Regions from separate parts of the Homo sapiens genome. Here region 1 is linked to region 2. The links are contacts of gene promoters, found by promoter capture Hi-C in human tissues and cell types (Jung and others, 2019). All regions are on one chromosome and are shown on one strand. Each heading gives the region's core, a stretch centred on a gene start or on the middle of the fragment in contact. The rest is flanking DNA. Distances are from core to core; before and after follow the strand shown.

Region 1 (3,790 bases), core at 574-3,073, 310 kb before region 2:
TAATCCTGCCCAGCCTCTACACGGGAGGGCGCTCCCCCTCTCTGAGCCTCAGTTTCCCCTTCTGAGAGGGCTGTGTTAGACCATCCCTGGGATCCTTTCCACCCTGACGTGTGGTGATTTTATTAAAGCCCCGTGGTTCAGGGCTCTGGGAAAATAACAAGCCCTTCCTCCCACAGCCTCGATATCTTGCTGGCTTCATCACCCACACCCCTGTTTTGGTCCTTAAGGAAGCACATGTGAGGGGAGCCTCGCTGGTTTTCTCAAGCTCCCAGCCACGGGGTGGAGGGTGCTAGTGAACACACAGGACCCAGCACTGCACACAGAGGCATCTGTGAGGGTGAGTGTGGGCTGGCCCTCCGGCAAGACCAGTAGTGCGTGCCTGGGTCAGTGAACCCGGACTCGTATCTGCTCCATGGGCTTCCAGAAACAAAGGCTGGTTCCCGGGAAAGCCGGATCACCCCATCCGGAGGAGAGCGAGCCCTTTCTCCCTTCTGTCTGTAAACAGCAGGGCCGCCTTGCAGCTGCTGTAGTTTCGTGGCTAGAGGGCAGGTCCCTCAGAACCCTCCCAAGGGACTGTAATTTAGGTATATTTAGCCAGGCCACTTTCCTTAACATCAACATCGGCACCCGAGGCCTGGCTGGGCTGACCACATCACATGCGGTGGCCTCCCCACCCAGGGGCACAGCCGCCCTCGCTGTCCCCTCATCCCCAGCCTAAAAGCCCTTTTCATCAACTCACCCATCCCCCCAACACCCCGAGGAAGAGCAAAAACAACTTACAGGGGGGCCGCGGGGACCAATGATGGACAGCCCAGCGTCTCCGGGGGACCCCTGCGGGGAGAGAGGAAGGGGGAGAGGGAGCGAGGGGCAGGGAGGTATGGAGAAGAGGAGCGGGAAAGAGAGGAACCAAAGGGAAGGAGCTGGCAGGGGGCCAGGAGCAGGAGGCCGGCCCCATGGGACAGGAGAGGGATGCCAGGGGACGTGGAGGGCCACGAGGGGATCAGCAGAGTCAACACAGAGGGCACAGGGGCAAGGAGGGAGCATTCAGAATGGGTTGGGAAGGGCAGGTAGTAGGGGGAAGCAGCAGGAGGGAAAGGAGAAGAGGTGTCAGTGAGAACACAGGACATGGGGTTCCGGGGAGACAGGGTGGTGGGACCCCAGGCCGGGGAAGCGAGAAGAACAGGATCCATTGGAGTGGCGGGAAACAGGGAGACACAGGGAGAGAGGGGAGACTTAGCAAGGCTGCCCAGGCCTGAGTCTCTCCCCGGCCCAGCCCAGGATGCTTTCCAGCTCCCCCTCCGCAAATACCCATCTGGCCGCACACCCTGCAACTGCTGAACAGTGACCTGCCCGAGAATGGGACTGTGAAAACAGAGGAGGGGGACACGAGCAACATGCGTGCTGTGTGAACTCAGCATCCCTGACCCTGAAAGGTTGAGCTGCCTCAAATTCCCTAGTCCCGGTTTCAGAATGACATGGAGGGGTGAAGGCCAGGGCAGAATGTCAGCTCTGAGAGGAAGGCAGATGCTGCTGAATGATGAGCTCAAAGTGCTGTCAAGGGTGGCTGAGCTAGCTAGACAAGTGCCATGTGTGCGTGTGTGTGTCCCTAAGTTCAAGGTCCTACTCTGCCAGGAAAAGTCACAAAACCTCTCTGAGCCCACATACCTCCTCTGGGAACAGGAATGCTGAGAGCGGCTCTGTTGCCCTTACGGGAAACGCATTTTGGAAAATGTCATACCTTACAGGCAGGCGAGGGATGATTTCAAGTTAGTAACTGTTTATGTCATGGCAATGATACAATAATTTTTATACAAGGCGGTGTAGTGTCATGGTTAAGAGCCAGAATGCTTGGGTCTGAAGATCAGCTCTGCTACCCACCAGCTGTGTGACCTTGGGCAAGCGACTTAATGTCCCCGTGCCTGTCTTCTCATCTGTAAGGATACAGATAGCGCCTGTCTCATAGGGTGGATGTGAAGATGTCATGTGATAATGTAAAGTACTTAAAACAATGCCTGGTCCATGGAAGGGGTCATGTGTCTTTCTCCTAGGCAGTTTAGCCTCATGCCAATGTGGAGCTGACAGTCTAGTTCCAATATGAGGACAGAATAGCATGGTAGCTAGGAGCCCCAGCCTTGGAGTCAGACACACTGGGGCACCTCTCCATCTCTGTCACATTCTAGCTGTGTGACCCGGGGCATGTGACTTGGCCTCTCTGTGCCTCGTGTAAATGAGAATATTAAAGCTTCCCTGAAAAGGTTATGTCAGTGCTAGTTGGGAAAACAGACAAAATACTTAAACCCGCACCTGACACAATTTGTGTTTAATACATGGCAACTGTATTATAATTGTTGAGATTGTTATTTTGGAGATGGGAAACTATTGCAGAAATACTGCATTACAGACAGGGAAGTACAGAGCCGGGCACCGGGAGGTCTGGCTTGGAGCCCCTGCTCATCACTATTGCTGTGCCATCTTGGGCCAGCCCTGCTCCTTCCTTGGGCATCAGATGAGTTTCCTCACCTGCAGAGTGAACTCTTTAGAAGTGTTGTGCTTGGCCAGGCATGGTGGCTCACACCTGTAATCCCAGCACTTTGGGAGGACAAGTGGGCGGATCACCTGAGGTCAGGAATTCGAGACCAGCCTGGCCAACATGGTAAAACCCTGTCTCTACTAAAACTGCAAAAATTAGCTGGGTGTGGTGGCACAGGCCTATAATCCCAGCTACTTGGGAGGCTGAGGTAGGAGAATTGCTTGAACCCAGGAGACGGAGGTTGCAGTGAGCCGAGATCTCGCCACTGCGCTCCAGCCTGGGTGACAGAGCGAGACTCAATCTCAAAAAAAAAAAAGAAGTGTTGCTCTCAGAAATCTCTCAAGAACCCCCCAGGGCTGATGTTCCAGGATGGCTTCTGGATTTCTGACTTCCCAGGGGGGCTCTATTCCATAGCCTCGGGGGTCCCCCTGGGCAGTTCCAGCTACACAAAATAGCGATTGGCCAGAGCGATGAGGCCTCATGCTGTCAGGGCAGGGCAAGGCAGGGAAGACCTCCTCAGCTGGGAAAGCTGGGACCGCCGCCCAGGAATCCCAAGACTGCTGCCCGATGTTATGGAAGCTGTTAGGAAACGGGGCCGTGAGAGGCAGTGAGGGCAGCAGGCCCAGCCAGCACCCTCTGCTGCGGCTTTCATGGGGGGGAGGGCTGAGAGCCTCCCATCAAGAGTCCACCTGGAGGAGGAGGCTGGGTGCAGGGCAGAAGGGGAAAGTGTGGACTCACCTTCTCGCCTGGTTGGCCCTTTACTCCCTGGGGCAGCCACATGCAACACAGGGTGCAGGAAGGGAAAGGAGGGGAGAGAAAAAAGAGGGGATGAGAAAGAGGCACCCACACGAGAATCCATGTTCATAGCACAACAACCAAACAGAAGAAATCACTGTGAAATAAGAAACAAAGCAAAACACAGATGTCGACACATGGCAGGTCCACGTCCAACAAGCACAGCATGTGGCATGTGGAAGGCGCTGCTGCAATGTGCAGCTGCTCCAGATAACTGAGAAACAGTGGCTGGGGCCGTAAGAGGCCCTCTTGAGGCACGTACGTGTGTGTGTGTGTGTGTGTGTGTGTGTGTGTGTGTGTGTGTGTGTGAGAGAGAGAGAGAGAGAGAGAGAGACAGAGAGAGAGAGAGAGAAAGCCAGACAATGGGAGAGAGACAGAGATAGAGAAAAGAGAACAAGATCCCACCTAAGTCAGGAAATCCTCCCCAGAAGCCATGGCCCCAGCTGGCCAGGACACTCTGAGGTT
Region 2 (3,744 bases), core at 1,175-3,674:
AGAAGAAGAAGAAGAAGAAGAAGAGGAGGAGGAGGAGGAGGAGGAGGAGGAGGAGGAAGCAGCAGCAGCAGCAGCAGCTTGAATGGACAGTGGTTCCCCTTGCCTAGAAAATGGGACCATTATTTCTTTTCTAATCTGACCCCCAGACTCAGGACTTCCTCTATTTTCTGCATTTTGGGGTCTCTTGTTTTGCCTTGAAAAAAAATGTTTTCTCCCAAATCAAGGAGCAGTAGCTGGTGCAAGGGAAAATCTAGGGCTAGGAGTCTTAAGATATGACTTCTATGTGGTTCTGATAGAACTTGCTGTGTGACCTTGAGAGAGTCACTCCCCCTCTCTGGGCCTTGATTTTTTCATCTTTAAAGAAGGCCTCAAATTCCCATTCTTATGAGAAGAAGACAAGCTCCTAGTGAGTGGTGACCTAAGGGAGCAGCTGCAGCAAAATGCTAACCTGACAGTCCCAGATGGTCCCTTTATTGGTTCTGACCCTGGTCTCAGGCTTCATTTCCCCACAGCAAGGGAAGGAGCCTGCTCACAGAGCACCAGCTAAGATCAGCAGGACCGCGCCACACCCCCGCCCAGTCCTAGAGCCCCCCTCTCGCTGGTTCCTGAGCATACCACCCTCTTCCTTGGAGGAAAATTTGCCCCCAAGCAGCCTAGGCGGTAAGAGGCTATCACTAGGGCAGACTCACAGACCTACCTCATCCCCTCACCCCACCCTACAGTCTCGAAGTCGGGTCCTGTCCCCTCCTGCAGTTTCCGGGAGACTCAGGATATCTGGACCTGCTAGAAAGAGAAGCCTTCCTCGCCTAAGGAGACTTAAACCGGGATACTTAAACCTCCCGCCTCGGCGTCTTCCTCCAGGCACGACCGGGTCAAGAGAGAGAAGCGGAAGCTGCAACCCCTCACTCTGAGTGACCGGAAGCAGAAGACCACGGGATGTCCCAGGCGGGGACAAGAGGAGGGGCTGGGGAAGAAAGGAGGGATGATGAGTTCAGAGTCCCTTTGGAAAGGTTTCCAGAGAGCGCTACCAGGGACAACCCAAGGGGCTGGGGAAGTCCCTGCCTTGTGCTCTCTGTGCGATGCCCGAGTGATGCAGAGGCAGGGGGCTGGAGCAGGTGACTGCTGGCAGCTGCTGTCTGTCTGTGATTGGACCGGAGGACTAAGGGGAGAAAAAGTTTATCAGCTTCTCCCAGTGCCTGCACGCTGTGGTAGTTCAAAAGACACGAGGGGGAGGGGCACAGCAGCTCTGCTTCCCAGCGCCTTGGGAGACTGAAGTGAAAGGAACGCTTGAGCCCAGGAGTTCGAGACCATCCTGGGCAACAAAGCAAGACCGCCCCTCACCCCATACAAAATAAAAATACAAATAAATTAGCCGGGCACAGTGGCGCATGCCTGTAGTCTCAGCTACTGGGAAGGCTGAAGTGGGAGGATAGCTTGAGCCCAGGAGATCAAGGCTGCAGTGAGCTGTGATTGCACCACTGCAGTCCAGCCTGGGCGACAGAAGGAGACCGTTTTTTGGTTTTGTTTGTTCGTTTAAAAAAAAAAAGAAGCAAGAGCTCACTGTGAACTCCTGGTTCCTTCCTCCCCTCCTCACACTTCCCAGAACTCTTCCTGTCACGGTTCCTGGCCAGAACGCTGGGATACTATCTACAAGCTGTAGTAGGCTTGTAGTAATGGAATGTCCGCTTGAGGGGTCCCCGCACAGCCAACCCCTGCCTCTGGAGTGGGATCTATGGGGGTGGGGTTCTAAGCGCCTCTGGGGAGTGTGAGGTAGCATCTCAGGGTGTGGCAGAGGCTCGGACACCCCCAAAAGGTCTGCGAATGGAAGGGACATAGGCAGGATCTCTCTCAGTGATGTCCCCTGTCTTCCAGGATGAAGAGAGGCAGTGAAACACCAGGAGAGCAGGGCGTCCTTTAGAATTCCTGGACCCTTCTCCAGGCTGCTAGTCAGGACAATGAGCTCGTGGTTGTCTTTGCCACTATCTTCCTGTGCGATTTCAGACAAGCCACCTCCCTCACTAAGCCTAAATTTCCCCATGTGTAACGTGCAGGCATTGTACCCTAGAGGCATCAAAGTCCCCTCCAGGACAGATGCTAAGGAAAGATAGGCTAGGAGCAAAGCCGTCTGAGGTGGCCTGACCAGAGCCACACGAGGCTCTTCTCACTGGGCGAGGCTCTTTGAGGAACCGAGAGTTGCTGGGACCCAGCCCGCCCTCGAGAGAGCAAACAGAGCGGCGCTCCCCTCCCCCGACCCCGGCCCTTTGTCCGGAATCCAGCTGTGCCCTGCGGGGGAGGAGCGGGCTCGCGTGGCGCGGCCCCAGGGCCCCGGCGCTGATTGGCCGGTGGCGCGGGCAGCAGCCGGGCAGGCACGCTCCTGGCCCGGGCGAAGCAGATAAAGCGTGCCAAGGGGCACACGACTTGCTGCTCAGGAAATCCCTGCGGTCTCACCGCCGCGCCTCGAGAGAGAGCGTGACAGAGGCCTCGGACCCCATTCTCTCTTCTTTTCTCCTTTGGGGCTGGGGCAACTCCCAGGCGGGGGCGCCTGCAGCTCAGCTGAACTTGGCGACCAGAAGCCCGCTGAGCTCCCCACGGCCCTCGCTGCTCATCGCTCTCTATTCTTTTGCGCCGGTAGAAAGGTAATATTTGGAGGCCTCCGAGGGACGGGCAGGGGAAAGAGGGATCCTCTGACCCAGCGGGGGCTGGGAGGATGGCTGTTTTTGTTTTTTCCCACCTAGCCTCGGAATCGCGGACTGCGCCCAGTGACGGACTCAAACTTACCCTTCCCTCTGACCCCGCCGTAGGATGACGCCTCAACCCTCGGGTGCGCCCACTGTCCAAGTGACCCGTGAGACGGAGCGGTCCTTCCCCAGAGCCTCGGAAGACGAAGTGACCTGCCCCACGTCCGCCCCGCCCAGCCCCACTCGCACACGGGGGAACTGCGCAGAGGCGGAAGAGGGAGGCTGCCGAGGGGCCCCGAGGAAGCTCCGGGCACGGCGCGGGGGACGCAGCCGGCCTAAGAGCGAGTTGGCACTGAGCAAGCAGCGACGGAGTCGGCGAAAGAAGGCCAACGACCGCGAGCGCAATCGAATGCACAACCTCAACTCGGCACTGGACGCCCTGCGCGGTGTCCTGCCCACCTTCCCAGACGACGCGAAGCTCACCAAGATCGAGACGCTGCGCTTCGCCCACAACTACATCTGGGCGCTGACTCAAACGCTGCGCATAGCGGACCACAGCTTGTACGCGCTGGAGCCGCCGGCGCCGCACTGCGGGGAGCTGGGCAGCCCAGGCGGTTCCCCCGGGGACTGGGGGTCCCTCTACTCCCCAGTCTCCCAGGCTGGCAGCCTGAGTCCCGCCGCGTCGCTGGAGGAGCGACCCGGGCTGCTGGGGGCCACCTTTTCCGCCTGCTTGAGCCCAGGCAGTCTGGCTTTCTCAGATTTTCTGTGAAAGGACCTGTCTGTCGCTGGGCTGTGGGTGCTAAGGGTAAGGGAGAGGGAGGGAGCCGGGAGCCGTAGAGGGTGGCCGACGGCGGCGGCCCTCAAAAGCACTTGTTCCTTCTGCTTCTCCCTGGCTGACCCCTGGCCGGCCCAGGCCTCCACGGGGGCGGCAGGCTGGGTTCATTCCCCGGCCCTCCGAGCCGCGCCAACGCACGCAACCCTTGCTGCTGCCCGCGCGAAGTGGGCATTGCAAAGTGCGCTCATTTTAGGCCTCCTCTCTGCCACCACCCCATAATCTCATTCAAAG

What was found. The method cuts DNA at HindIII sites, captures the fragments that hold promoters and counts their contacts. A contact is called where the count stands out against the background at its distance.
Region 1: a fragment that was not itself captured here is called in contact with the fragment with the promoter of NEUROG3 in region 2 in 1 of the 25 tissues and cell types used here (aorta).

Annotation. Positions count from the first base shown.
Region 1 is chr10:69,877,544-69,881,333 of GRCh38, reverse strand. It overlaps COL13A1 (collagen type XIII alpha 1 chain), which reads right to left. Exons shown (of 41, transcript NM_001368882.1): 6 at 3,269-3,295; 7 at 781-831. Among named protein-coding and RNA genes, the nearest start is that of COL13A1, 78 kb to the right of the region's middle. The HindIII fragment of the contact is 4,719 bases long and covers 1-3,790 here.
Region 2 is chr10:69,572,102-69,575,845 of GRCh38, reverse strand. NEUROG3 (neurogenin 3) reads left to right here and starts at 2,424. Exons shown (of 2, transcript NM_020999.4): 1 at 2,424-2,636; 2 at 2,802-3,744. The coding sequence starts at 2,803. The coding sequence ends at 3,447. It overlaps LOC101929021 (a long non-coding RNA gene), which reads right to left and starts at 2,889. Exons shown (of 4, transcript XR_946037.2): 1 at 2,779-2,889; 2 at 698-964. RefSeq lists a silencer at 2,154-2,373 and an enhancer at 3,631-3,744. The HindIII fragment of the contact is 13,443 bases long and covers 1-3,744 here.